Linked DNA regions of Homo sapiens: region 1 is linked to region 2. The links are contacts of gene promoters, found by promoter capture Hi-C in blood cells and fetal thymus (Javierre and others, 2016). All regions are on one chromosome and are shown on one strand. The core of a region is centred on a gene start or on the middle of the fragment in contact, and the rest is flanking DNA. Distances in the headings are between cores, read along the strand shown. Region 1 overlaps SEPTIN9 (septin 9). Region 2 holds the start of SYNGR2 (synaptogyrin 2).

Region 1 (6,102 bases), core at 2,001-4,500, 840 kb after region 2:
AACCACCTATGGATTTGCTCATTTGTGGACTGCCTCTCAGTTCCAACTGTTAAGTAACAAGCGACCAGCGACTGTGTCTTTGTTGCTCCTCATTACAGGCCAAGCACCTAAGAGAGGGGCTGCACATAGTAGGCCTCAATAAACATTCACCAGACGGGCCAGGCACGGTGGCTCATGCCTGTAATCCCAGCACTTTGGGAGGCCAAGCTGGGTGGATCACTTGAGGTCAGGAGATCGGGACCAGCCTGACCAACATGGTGAAACCCCATCTCTACTAAAAATACAAAAATTAACCAGGCATGGTGGCGGACGCCTGTCATCCCAGCTATTTGGGAGGCTGAGGCAGGAGAATCGCTTGAACCTGGGAGGCGGAGGTTGCAGTGAGGCGAGATGGCGCCACTGCACTCCAGCCTGGGTGACGGAGTGAGACCCCGTATCAAACAACAACAACAAAACATTTGCCAGAAGAACTAAAGCAGCCTGCCTGTGTCTAACAGGAACTTAAGAGCACAAGATGAACTCAACCAAAGGACACACACAGCAGGCATTTCACAGCTGACACCTGTTGGTGGAGGGAGATTAGGAAAGTGGGGAGAGGCAGTGCCTGGGCATGGGGACACCCTGGGCATGGGGACGCCCTGGATACAGGGACACACTGGGCACGGGGACACCCTGGGCACAGGACGCCCTGGGAACGGGGACACCCTGGGTACGGGGACACCCTGGGCATGGGGATGCTCTGGATACAGGGACACCCTGGGCACGGGGAAACCCTGGGCATGGGGATGCCCTGGATACAGGGACACACTAGGCACGGGGACACCCTGGGCATGGGGATGCCCTGGATACAGGGACACACTGGGCACGGGGAAACTCTGAGCATCGGGATGCCCTAGGCACGGGGACGCCTCCTGCCACCTGAAACCCCGCAGCCCCATCACACCCGTCTGTTCCAGCAAATCGGTCCAAAGAGCATTTTCAAGCTTTCATGGCAAAGTTTCAGAGCCAGTGCCTCTTCGCTGATTTCGAGGGTGTGTTGTTTATTCAGTGTTCAAGTCAGAGTTTCCCCATTTAGAAAAAAAAAGAGGAGGGTGGCTCCACGGATGGAGGTATGAGGGCGTCCACAGGCAGAGGGAGTCTCCGGGCTGAGATCTGCGCCACTCTCTGTCCCAATTTCAAGGCGTAGCCTGGAGCCCAAATCAGTCTCCAAACGTGGGCCGCTGGTTAAGAGGAATCTCCCCACCCACGATCCCCTCCCATACCCAGCCCCCACTGCCCAGAGCATGCCAGCCTTGCCTGCCCTGGCCTTCAGGACCCCCTCAGGGACCCTCAGGCTCCAAGTCAGGGTGGGCTTGAACCAAGGCAGCCCCAGAATCTATGCCAATGCCCTTGCCAGTGGGAGACCCTGGGGAGCACCGTGCGGGATGCATGGGGCCAGGCGGGGGCACACAGCGAGCGGCTTCAGAAGCTCTGGCCGTTCGGAGTGGGGGGGTGCCCAGAGCAAGAGACGGGCCAGGAAGCTGGAGTGAGCAAGGAGGCCTCAGCCCCTGGTGGGAGCAGGCCGGGTAAAAATAAACTAACCTGAGGGCAGCAGCCAGCGAGACCACTACAGGAGGGGTGGTGGGGCCGGAGGGGTCCCAGGAGCCCAGGAGAGGGAGGCATTGCCAGAGGTAAGGTCGGCAGATGAGAGCCAGTGCTGGTAGGATTAACTTGCTACAGCAGCTATGGTTTATTCTTTTTTTTTTCTTTTACACATGTTCCTGGGGCTCATGGAATTTACTAGTTTATTATAAAGGATATTACAAAGGATACAGGGGAAGAGATGTGTAGGGCAAGGTATGGGGGAGGGACGCAGAGCTTCCATGTGCTCCCCAGGCGCTCCACCCTCCAGGAGCCTCCACATGCTCATCCATCCAGAAGCTCCCGGAACCCCATCCTTCTGAGTGTTCACGGAGGCCTCATTACGAAGGCATGATTGATTCAATCATTGGCCGCTGATGATCTGCTTAACCTTCAGCCCCTCTCCCCTACCTGGAGGTTGCGGGGTGGTGCTGAACCTTGTGATTCTACCTGGTCTTCCCTGGGAACCATCCTGAAGCTGCCAGCTGGTCTGTCAATCATGAGCATCCAAAAAGACATCACTTTGGAGATTCCAAGGATTTTAGGAGTTGTGTGCCAGGAAATGGAGATGAAAACCAAGTGTATATTTCACAACATGACAGTCAGTCTCTTTCAACCCCAGTCTTACTTCCTGCCGTGCTGCCGGCCTCAGCCCCCCGCGCCCCAGGGCCTTTGAACACATTGCCGGTTGCCTGCAGCGATCGCCTCTGCCTGCTGGGTTTGAGCCTGGTTTACTCCCCTCATCCTTCTGCGCTCAGCCCGAAGGTGTCCCCCCGAGGCAGCCCTCCTGACCTGGTCCTACGAACCGCAGGTTCTGTCCTGCCACTGGTCCCCTTTGTCACACCTGTCACTTCCTGTGTTTCACGTTTACTGATGTGGTCTTGCACTTGTGCAGTCCCATGAGGGCAAGGACTGTGTCTGGCTTTGTCCTCCACGGGACCCCAGCGCCAAGTCCACAGGGAGCACCCAATGCTGAATGAATGAATGAGTGACCGGCAAGGGAGGTTTATTTTGTCATGTTGGGGGTCAAAGGTTGCTGGGCGGACCACATGGGTGAGGTTGGGTGGGGAGGGAAGCAGAGATGACCCCTTGGAAGAAGGGGTAGGAGGCGGGGAGGTGGGTGTGGGGTGCTGTATAAGGATGGCAAGTGCTTCCAGGGGTGACAAGCCAACCTAGAGCACCAGGCAGCAGAAAAAGGCTGACACCCTCACGCCCCACTTCCACTTAGGGAGAGGCCAGGCCTCCGGGAAAGCCAGCTCCCCGTTGCTAGGAGAGCCCCAAGGGAAGCTTCATCAGCTGCTGAGTTGGTCACAGTGGAAACCCATGTGGTGGGTGGGAGGGGTTTGAGGCACAGGGGTTTGGGTGGTGGCTTCAGGATGGAGACTTGTGTCCAGATCATGAGGGGTGGCCCCAGGGATGACCACCTCCAAACAGGAAGCAGACAAAGGCACAGATGGCAGAAGCGGAGGCAGAGAATGGGCTGCAGGGGCTTCCCCAGAGGGAGAGCCGAGCAAGGGGACAGGCTGGAAACACTCAGCCTCCATGGCCTGAAGCACAGACAGCTGGTCTCACACGCAGGCCGGGCAGCCACACCACCTAGAACAAGGGGCATGTCCGCAGGGCAGGCCTCAGGACGCCCCGGGCTGGCCCTGCCATCAGCCTAGAAAGACGGCCCAGGCTTTCCCGGTAGGGAGCACGTCCAGCCAGGTCCTGGGCAGGAGCTGAGACTCCCTGGCTGGCCTGAGAGGGGATGATCGAGTGCAGGCCCAGCCCGGGACTTCCCCACTCCTCCCCGCCACCCAGCGGAACCAGCTGGGCGTGAGAAAAGAAGAGAAGTGAATCAAGAGCCCAGAGCATGAGGCTGGACCAGCCCTTACACCACATGCAAAAATCAACTCAACTTGCATCAAAGACCTAAACTCAAGAGCTAAAACCACAAAACTCTTAGAAGAAAACACAGGGGAAAAGCTTCCTGACGTTGCATTTGGCAATGATTTCTTGGATATGGCGCCAAAAGCACAGGCAACAGAAGAACAAATAGATAAAGTGGAACGTCATAGAAGTTTAAAATATTTGCATATCAGCCTGGGTGCGGTGACTCACGCCTGTAACTCCGGCACTTTGGGAGGCCGAGACGGGTGGATTACTTGAGGTCAGGAGTTCGAGACCAACTTAGTCAACACAGTGAAACCCCGTCTCTACTAAAAATACAAAAATTAGCTGGGTGTGGTGGCGGGTGCCTGTAATCCCAACTACTCAGGAGGCTGAGGCAGGAAAATCGCTGGAACCAGGGAGGCGGAGGTTGCAGTGAGCCAAGATCATGCCACTGCACTCCAGCCTGGGCAACAGAGTCAGACTCCATCTCAAAAAAAAAAAAAAAAATTGCATATCAAAGGGCACTAACAACGTGGGGAGAAGGCAATCCATGGAATGGCAGCAAATCATAGGTCAGATATGGGATTAGTATCTGGATATTAATCTACAGATCTCCTAACACTCAGCAACAACAATCATCCAAATCAAACACAGGTAAAGGACTTGGACAGACATTTCTGCAAGAATATGTGCAAATGAGCAATAAACACGAAAAGATGCTCAACATCACTAACCACTGGGGAATTGCAAATCAAAACCACAAGGAGAGACCCCTCACAACCATGAGCTCTGGGCAGGTAGGAAGACGCCTGGTGGGGAGTTGCCGGCTCCATGCTGTCCCCAGAATTCCTGCAGGGGCTAAGCCCGACCCCGACACCTCACCAGGAGCACAGAAACGAGTGGAAAAGGCCAAAGGCCACCCCAAAGGGCCAGAGGGGTCCAGCAAGGAGTCTGGGACATGGAACCATGCTGTGCATCCAGACACACGGGGACAACAGGGGGATGAAAGGTGGCCCCTAAAATTTACATCCACCCCAGAGCCTATGAACATGGCCTATTTGGAAAAAGGGTCTTTGCAGACGTTATGAAGTTAAGGATCTTGAGATGGGACCATTTTGGGTTACCCAGTGGGCCCTAAATCCGAGAAAGACTGTCCGTATGAGAGACAGACAGGGGGAGATTTAGGGCACAGAAGGAGGCCCCGTGACAACGGAGGCAGAGGTCGAGTGGTGTGGCCACGAGCCAAGGAACGCCAAGGGTTTCGGGAGCCGCCAGAAGCTGCCAGAGGCGAGAAGCAGGCTCCCCCTCGGAGCCTCCGGAAAGAACCAGGCCTGCTGATGCCGTGATTTCGGACTTCTGGCCTCCAGAACGGCGAGAGAAGAAATGTCTGGTGTTTTGAGCCACCCAGTTTGTGGCACTTGGTGATGGCAGCCCCAGGAAACCACTACAGGGACCAGAGTTCCCACGGGGCTGGGCAGGAAGCGGGTGCAGAGCGCGTCAGGCCAGGCCTCTCACCTCGGAGATGGAAAAGCAGAGCTGGAGAGGTTGAGACCGGACAGGCACCGAGCGTCCAGGGGTAAGAACTCCCAGGGGATGGCAGAGGCCATCGGGGACAGCACAGCGAGGGACAGGAGGGAGGGGTGAGGGCTGAGGCACCGCCCTCCAGGAGGCCTCGGTTCCCCGCCCACTGATGACCCAGGAACCCCGTAAGAGGAGCTGGGCTTTACCCTGTGCCGTACTGCATCAGATGGACCCTGGTGGGGACAGACGTCCAGCGACAGCGTGGCCAAGCCCCCTCCAGGACCCCGGGCCTGCATTCATGACCATGCACAGACGGCCACTTCCCCTGCCTGCAGCCCTCCCTCGTGGCCTGTTCCTAGCCTCCCAGCCCAACAGAGCTCCCCAGTGGAAAGTTCCCTTCTTGGAGACTCTCTCCCTGCTGAAATACAAGCTCTTGGAACAAGATAAAACTGCTTAATTTGTAAAAGCCACAAAGCCGTTCCAGAACAAAAAAAAAGCTCCGACCCTTGGCTGGAAGGAGTGGCCTTCCATGCCTCAGCGGCCAGTCACCACTCCATGACTCATGCCGGCCCTGCTGACAAACCCTCCAGCACCTTCCCAGGGGAAGGCCACAGCCCCCAGGGAGGGCGGGAGAGTACCCAGGCCCCCGTTCACAAACCAGACCGGAGCCAGACACTGCCGAGGGAGGGACAAGAGGGCAGGTCTTGGGGCTCCTAAGCCTTCCCTGGGGCTGGCAGACCACCGTGGACTCACCAGGGTAGGACCACCCCCTCCCACAAACCCTTCCTGGGCAGCTGTAGGGCAGCCTGAGCTGGACACGCCTCACACGCCAGCCCAGTGGGGCATGAGGCACCCACAGCCACGTCTGGAAGTCAGCGGGCCGGCATCTGCCGGGCAGGCCTCTGTCACACAGGCACAGCGTCCTCCCCATGGCTCCTCCTCAGGCCAGAGCATGCTTGGGGATCAGAGCAGCTCTCGCAGTGGCTTGCAGCCTGACAACGCGGCGTGAGCCATGCCCTGCAGAGAAGAAGAGCCCCTCAGTGAGGGAAGAGGCGCCCACAAAACTCAGGACACGCGCAGAAACCC
Region 2 (6,225 bases), core at 3,098-5,597:
ACAGTTACTATTTTAAGATGTTGATGAAAGGCTTGTGCGGAATGCGACCCCAGACAGAGGGAAGGGGGCCAGCCAGGCAGGCTGGAGGGGGCGGATTGCCACTGCCTTGTTCAAACTACAAGTTCCATAAAGCCAGCCCCTAAGGGTGTACCCAGAGTGGAGTCTTCCTCCAACCCCTAGGCTGTGGCTCAACCAATGACTGGAGACTGAATGAGAAAACATTTATTCCGTCTCCAAACAGCATCCCAGGCCGGGCATCTCCCCCACGATTTTATAATACACTCGGCACAGACAGAGTCTGGGAGCCATGGGGCACCCCTGCCCTCCCCAGGCTTCCTAAGTAACAACTGCAGAATATTTACATAAAGCTGGGTGTTGTCAGGCAAAGCCCTTCCCTGCTGCCAGGGGTGGGAGCAAGGAGGAAGTGCCATGAGCACCAGCCCCGCCCTCACACCACGGGAGGCAGCCCAGAGGCCACCGGCACAGGGTGGTGGCCCCCAGATCATACAGCAGTGGGCACAGGGGAAGCAAACCTGAGTGAGGACACAAGAGCCTGGTCCGGCTCCGCTGCACAGGGCAGGTGTGATGGCCCCCACGAGTCTTTGGCAGAGAACGCAGATAATAGCGGCTCCCACGGCCTGACCCGGGCCGGGGGGAAGCTGAGGCACTTGTCAGTAGCACATGGGCACCTGCTGGCTTCTAGCCACTGCAGGCGGGGCTGAGGTCATTAAAAGCGAGGAAAAACACTAGCTAAAAACCCTTTCCTAAAAGTGCCCTGGAGGAGTGAGCGGCTGACTGAAGCCCTCTGGGCACAGGCACTTGGGGTGTGGCTCTGCCAGCCCCCGCCAGGCTATGAGGCTCCTTAGCTGTGTGTCAGCTGCACAGGATGGAACAGGTGAAAGAGAGGGGCTGGCAGTTCCAGGAGGCTCATGGGAAAGTCCAGGGCAGAGGGGAGGGCCCTCTCTGTCCCCCTTCCCACGCTAACCGCCGCTCAGTACACAGGGGGCGGCTGGTAGCCCTCGGTGGTCTCCGCGTTCTGGGTGAAGGGTGGCTGTTGGTAGTTGTCCACAGATGCACCTGGGTAGGAGGCGTAGGCAGTGTTGGGGTCCGGAGTGGGGTCAACGTAATTCTGGATGAAGTCGTCCACGCCAGCCTTGTAGCGCTGGTAGGCCAGGGAGGCCAGCACACCCTGCAGGGGGAGCACAGCAGGGTACAGGTGGGTGGGGGACCCCACCCTCCACCACCCTTGACCCAAGAACCGGCCCCTGGCCATCCTACCCAGGAGAAGATGGAAAAGAAGCTGAAGGTGATGGCTGCCCTCACAGAGTCGGCCCCCACCAGCACGTCCTTCGGGTTGGTGACTGCCCACTGGTTGGTGAGGAAGCAGAAACCAACAAACCACAGGAAGGTCCAGAGAGCTGGGGGAGGACGGGTGAAGCGTCAGTTCCATGGAAAGGGAGGGGCTTTCCAGGACTCTGGGAGGGGACGCGGGCAGGTAGGGCAGGGACCTCCCGGGGGAGCCTCCACACTATGGAGGGGAGGACTTGGAAGCCGGGCCGGGAGCCACCTCCAAAGTCCCCCACACTCGGGCCTTGGCAGGGTGGGCCACAGCAGACAGCCTAGGGGACAAAAGGGGCAGAGGCAAAGCCCATCTGCTCGGGTGTGCTGCAGGTCCACTCAGCTTCTAGCTACCCCAGGCAGGGCTGGTGCCATTCAAGCACGGAAAAACACTAGCTGAAAACCCTTTCCTAAAAATGCCCTGGAGGAGTGAGCTGCTCCCTGCCCCTCCCAGAGAGGCCGAGACCCTCCCAGCTGCGGAACCCTAGAGTTAATGCCTCCCCCAAGATCAAATGGAGGTGCCACAGGCAGATACCTGAGAAGAGCAGGTCACCAATGACCAGGTACTTGCGGTCAGTGGCGTTGCTGATCTGGGGGAAATACGCGTCGACCACCAAGAAGAAGGCCGAGGCCAGGAAGGCCAGCACCCCGATGGCACTGCCATAGCGGCAGGCATCCTCGTTGCGGTTGAACACGCAGTACATCTGCTTAGACTCGTGGGCATTGCTGTAGCCCTCACCATAGATGCAGGAGAACACGATCAAGGCGAAGACCTGCCGGGAGGGGAGGACCTGGTAGGGCTGGTGGCCGCCTGAGGGGCACACACAGCGGGGACCCTGATGGGGTGTACAGATGCTGGCCTCTCCCACTACTGCTGTCCCCTTTTGGGTTTTTGTTGTTGTTTGAGATGGAGTCTTGCTCTTGTTGCCCAGGCTGGAGTGCAATAGTGCGATCTCGGCTCACTGCATCCTCTGCCTCCTGGGTTCAAGCAATTCTGCCTCAGCCTCCCTAGTAGCTGGGATTACAGGTGCCCTCCACCACACCCGTATTTTTAGTAGAGATAGGGTTTCACCATGTTGGCCAGGCTGGTCTGGAACTCCTGACCTCAGGTGATCCACCCTCCTCGGCCTCCCAAAGTGCTGGGATTACAGGCATGAGCCACCTCGCCCAGCCTGCTGTCCCCTTTTGGAGGCTGACATCTTAGCCCCTCCAAACTTGTGGAGGTGAGCTGATGAGCAAAGTGCTTCCTGATGCACCCCAGGATGAGAATCTGCAGGCACCAGGGGGCCTGCCCCTGGGAATCCTGGACCGGGGAGGGGTGGGGAATGGGCAGGGACCTCCTAGGCAGGGGCTGCTCCTGCCCCATCGGCCTGCTGCAGGAATCATTCTGCTTAGGTACCTGATGGATGAAGGGCAGTCCTTCCATCCCCAGCCCAACCTCACCTTGAAAGAGGTTTAACCAAGACAGGCCAAGTCACAAAGACTACCCATCCCCCGTCACCTTCAGCCCAAGTCACTTCTACAGCACCCAGCCTCTGCCTGAACACCTTGGTGAAGGTGGACAGGCCCTCTTGGGAAGGCCATGCTGGCGCCCCTGTGTCTTCACCTCCTGGAACCCCTGGAACCCTCCCTGGTTCAGCCTGGCCAGCTGTCTCCACACAAGGACTTGCAGCCTCTGTGGCATCCTGGTCCCTCCCAGTCTGTCTCCCACCCCACAGAGGGCCCTGCATGCACAGGGCACTACAAGGGGACTAACTCAGGCCTGTGGATACAGCTCTGAACTCAGACACCTGGAGGACCCAGGGTGGATGTAGGGGAGCTCCAGCCCCTTGGGAAGAGCCCCATACCACCTCCCTAAACTTGAAGGCCACCACCCACGCCTGCTCCACCTCAGCAGGTGTGGGACAGGTCTGTGAGCATCAGGATCCCTCTGGGATGGCCCCAGGACTCTCCCCTGCCAGTCCTGCCCTGTTGTCCCAGGGAGCTCTCCATAGGGCTCTGGAGCTGGCAGTCACAGGCCCCGCCCCCAGATGGAGATGAAGCCGGATCTCCGGGATGATGGGAGCAGGGTGCCCATCCAGGACTCCTGGCACTGCCATCCCGACCCACTGGGCACCTGATTCTTGGACACAGCCCAGGACAGAGGCGATCAGATCCCACAGCCTGGCTGGGAGCTGGTGTGGGCGCCCTGGAGGACCTCAGAAGCTCCAGGCCCAGGCATGGTCTGGGCACAGCAGGCCCACCTCTGCCTGCCCCCTCATGCCACCCCCTCCAGCTTTCAGGGCTGGCTGTCCAAGAACAGGCCCCCTCCCCGCCACACACACACACACACAAAACCTGGTTTTGGAGGTATTGCCCACCTTACAGGGAGGGGGTACATCTTGGGGTCCCTCAACTTCGGGTGGGAAGGCGGACCCGTGGCCTGCCCCGAGTGGGAAGGACACCCTGTTTCCGGGCGTTGGGTCGCCCCCCGCCCCCTCCCTTACCCCACGTGGCTTCGGAAAACCCCGTCCCGGTGAACTCCCCAATCTGGGAGTCGCGGCGTGCGGGCCACCTGTCCGGGAGCCGCCCCCAAACTCCTCCCACTGCCAGCGAGGCAGGGGCCCGCTCCCTGCGGAGATCCGGACACCCCGCGTCGGGGCGCGAGGCTGGGGGTGGGGTGGGTGGCGGGACCCGGGACCGGGAGGGGACAGCGGGACAGACTGTGGAGGGCGGGAAGGCGGGGCCCGGGACGCTGGACGCCGGCCCCGCTCGCCGCCAGGCCCCGGACGCGGCCGCCGCCACCTGTCGCGCTCGTGGGCTAGGGGCCCCGCCGGGCCTGGCGACGGAGAGGGGGTCCCCAGGGTGCCCTCGGCCCGCCCTCCCCGGGCTCACCAAGCACACGGCGCGCGCCACCACCTGCGGCTGCGTCAGGAAGCGCCGCAGGTCGAAGGAGCCGCCCGCCTTGGCCGCGCCGTAGGCCCCGCTCTCCATGTCGCCGTCGCCGCCGCTGCCGCCGCCGCGGAACGCAGAGGAACCTGCCCGGCGCCCCGCCCGACTCCACCCGCCGGGGGCGTGGCCAGGCGCCGCTAGGGACCGAGGGCAAAGTGCGGCCCTCGCGAGCGGCGGGCGAGCCGCGGGACTGCGCTTCTAGAGGCGGGGAGGGGCTGTGGCCGCGGAGCACCCGGGTCCACCCCACCTCGGGGTTGAGGGGCTAGTCTCCGGGCCACGCCGGCCGCAGCACGGACCAGAAAGGGTCAGAGAGTCCCCCGGGAAGACGGACGAACTGAGGACCGCTCACCCTCTTTGCCCCTGCCCTCCCACCGCCTCCTCTAGGAAGCCCACCACCTACCAAGAACCCACCCAGGCTCATAAGCAACCCCTCCCCCATCCCACTGAAAAACCCAGGCCACACCCTGGAGCCCCTCCCTGCCTGGCCTGCCACTCTTTCCTCCTCTCTGGGGCTAAGCCTGGGGTAGGGTCAAAGACCCCCTCCCCATTCCTCCTGGTCTGGGCAGAGCCCCAAGGCTGTGAAGGGCAGTGTGGCGTCACACTTAAGATGGTGTGCAAGGCCGGGAGCGGTGGCTCACACCTGTAATCCCAGCACTTTGGGAGGCCGAGGCGGTTGGATCACCTGAGGTCAGGAGTTCGAGACCAGCCTGACCAACATGGAGAAACCCCGTCTCTACTAAAAATACAAAAATTAGCCTGGTGTGGTGGTGCATGCCTGTAATCCCAGCTACTCGGGAGGCTGAGGCAGGAGAATCGCTTGAACCTGGGAGGTGGAGGTTGCGGTGAGCCGAGATTGTGCCATTGCACTCCAGCCTGGGCAACAAGAGCAAAACTCTGTGTCAAAAAAAAAAAAAAAAAAAAAAAAAAAGATGGTGTGCAAGGCCGGGCGCAGTGGCTCACACCTGTAATCCCAGCACTTTGGGAGGCCGAGGCGGTTGGATCACCTGAGGTCAGGAGTTTGAGACCAGCCTGGCCAACATGGTGAAACCCCGTCTCTACTAAAAATACAACAACAACAAAAAAATTAGCTGGGCGTTGTGGTAAGCGCCTGTAATCCCAGCTACTTGGGAGGCTGAGGCAGGATAATTGCTTGAAACCGGTAGGCAGAGGTGGCCGTGTGCTGAGATCGAGCCACTACACCCCAGCCTGGGCAACAGAGCAAGAGTCCATCTCAAAACAAACAAAACAAACAAACAAACAAACAAACAAACAAAACCAAAAACGAAAGTTAGCGAGGCGTGGTGGCAGCTACTAGCAGTCCCAGCTATTCCAGAGGCTGAGGTGGGAGAATTGTCTGAGCCCAGGAGGCGGAGTTTGCAGTGAACCAAGATCACGCCTTTGCACCCCAGCCTGGGTGACAGAGTAAGACCACATATCGGCCGGGCGTGGTGGCTCACGCCTGTAATTCCAGCACTTTGGGAGGCTGAAGCAGGCGGATCACGAGGTCAGGAGATCGAGAACACCCTGGCCAACATGGTGAAACCCCGTCTCCACTAAAAATACAAAAATTAGCTGGGCATGGTGGCGCGTGCCTGTAGTCCCAGCTACTTGGCAGGCTGAGGCAGGAGAATCGCTTGAACCCGGGAGGCGGAGGTTGCAGTGAGCCGAGATTGCACCATTGCGACAGAGCGAGACTCCATCTCAAAAAAAAAAAAAAAGAAAAGACCACATATAAAAAAATATATATATGGCATGCAAACAGAAATGAAGTTTTCAGGGCGACAGGCAGATGGCAAAGTTTAATCCAGTTCCAGTTCAGCCCCCTCTCGCCTCCGTCCCTCTCTACCTCCATCCCAAGAAAAACCGGTACAGAGGGTCTGGTGCAGGGTAGGCTGGGGCAGGCTCTGTGTGTGTTGGAGTGGGGAGCGGAGGTTGTACAGACAGAGGTGTGGGATC

What was found. The method cuts DNA at HindIII sites, captures the fragments that hold promoters and counts their contacts. A CHiCAGO score of 5 or more calls a contact.
Region 1: a fragment that was not itself captured here is called in contact with the fragment with the promoter of SYNGR2 in region 2 in 2 of 17 cell types (naive B cells and total B cells); the score reaches 5.5 in naive B cells.

The regions. Positions count from the first base shown.
Region 1 is chr17:77,322,720-77,328,821 of GRCh38, reverse strand. All of the region lies in intron 2 of SEPTIN9 (septin 9), which reads right to left. Among named protein-coding and RNA genes, the nearest start is that of SEPTIN9-DT, 44 kb to the right of the region's middle. RefSeq lists enhancers at 1,979-2,897, 3,089-3,398, 3,509-3,778 and a silencer at 5,065-5,238. The HindIII fragment of the contact is 681 bases long and covers 2,910-3,590 here.
Region 2 is chr17:78,166,703-78,172,927 of GRCh38, reverse strand. It overlaps SYNGR2 (synaptogyrin 2), which reads right to left and starts at 4,347. Exons shown (of 4, transcript NM_004710.7): 1 at 4,213-4,347; 2 at 1,874-2,111; 3 at 1,279-1,418; 4 at 208-1,189. The coding sequence starts at 4,311. The coding sequence ends at 992. RefSeq lists enhancers at 1-165, 986-1,055 and silencers at 3,885-4,044, 4,075-4,684. The HindIII fragment of the contact is 20,994 bases long and covers 1-6,225 here.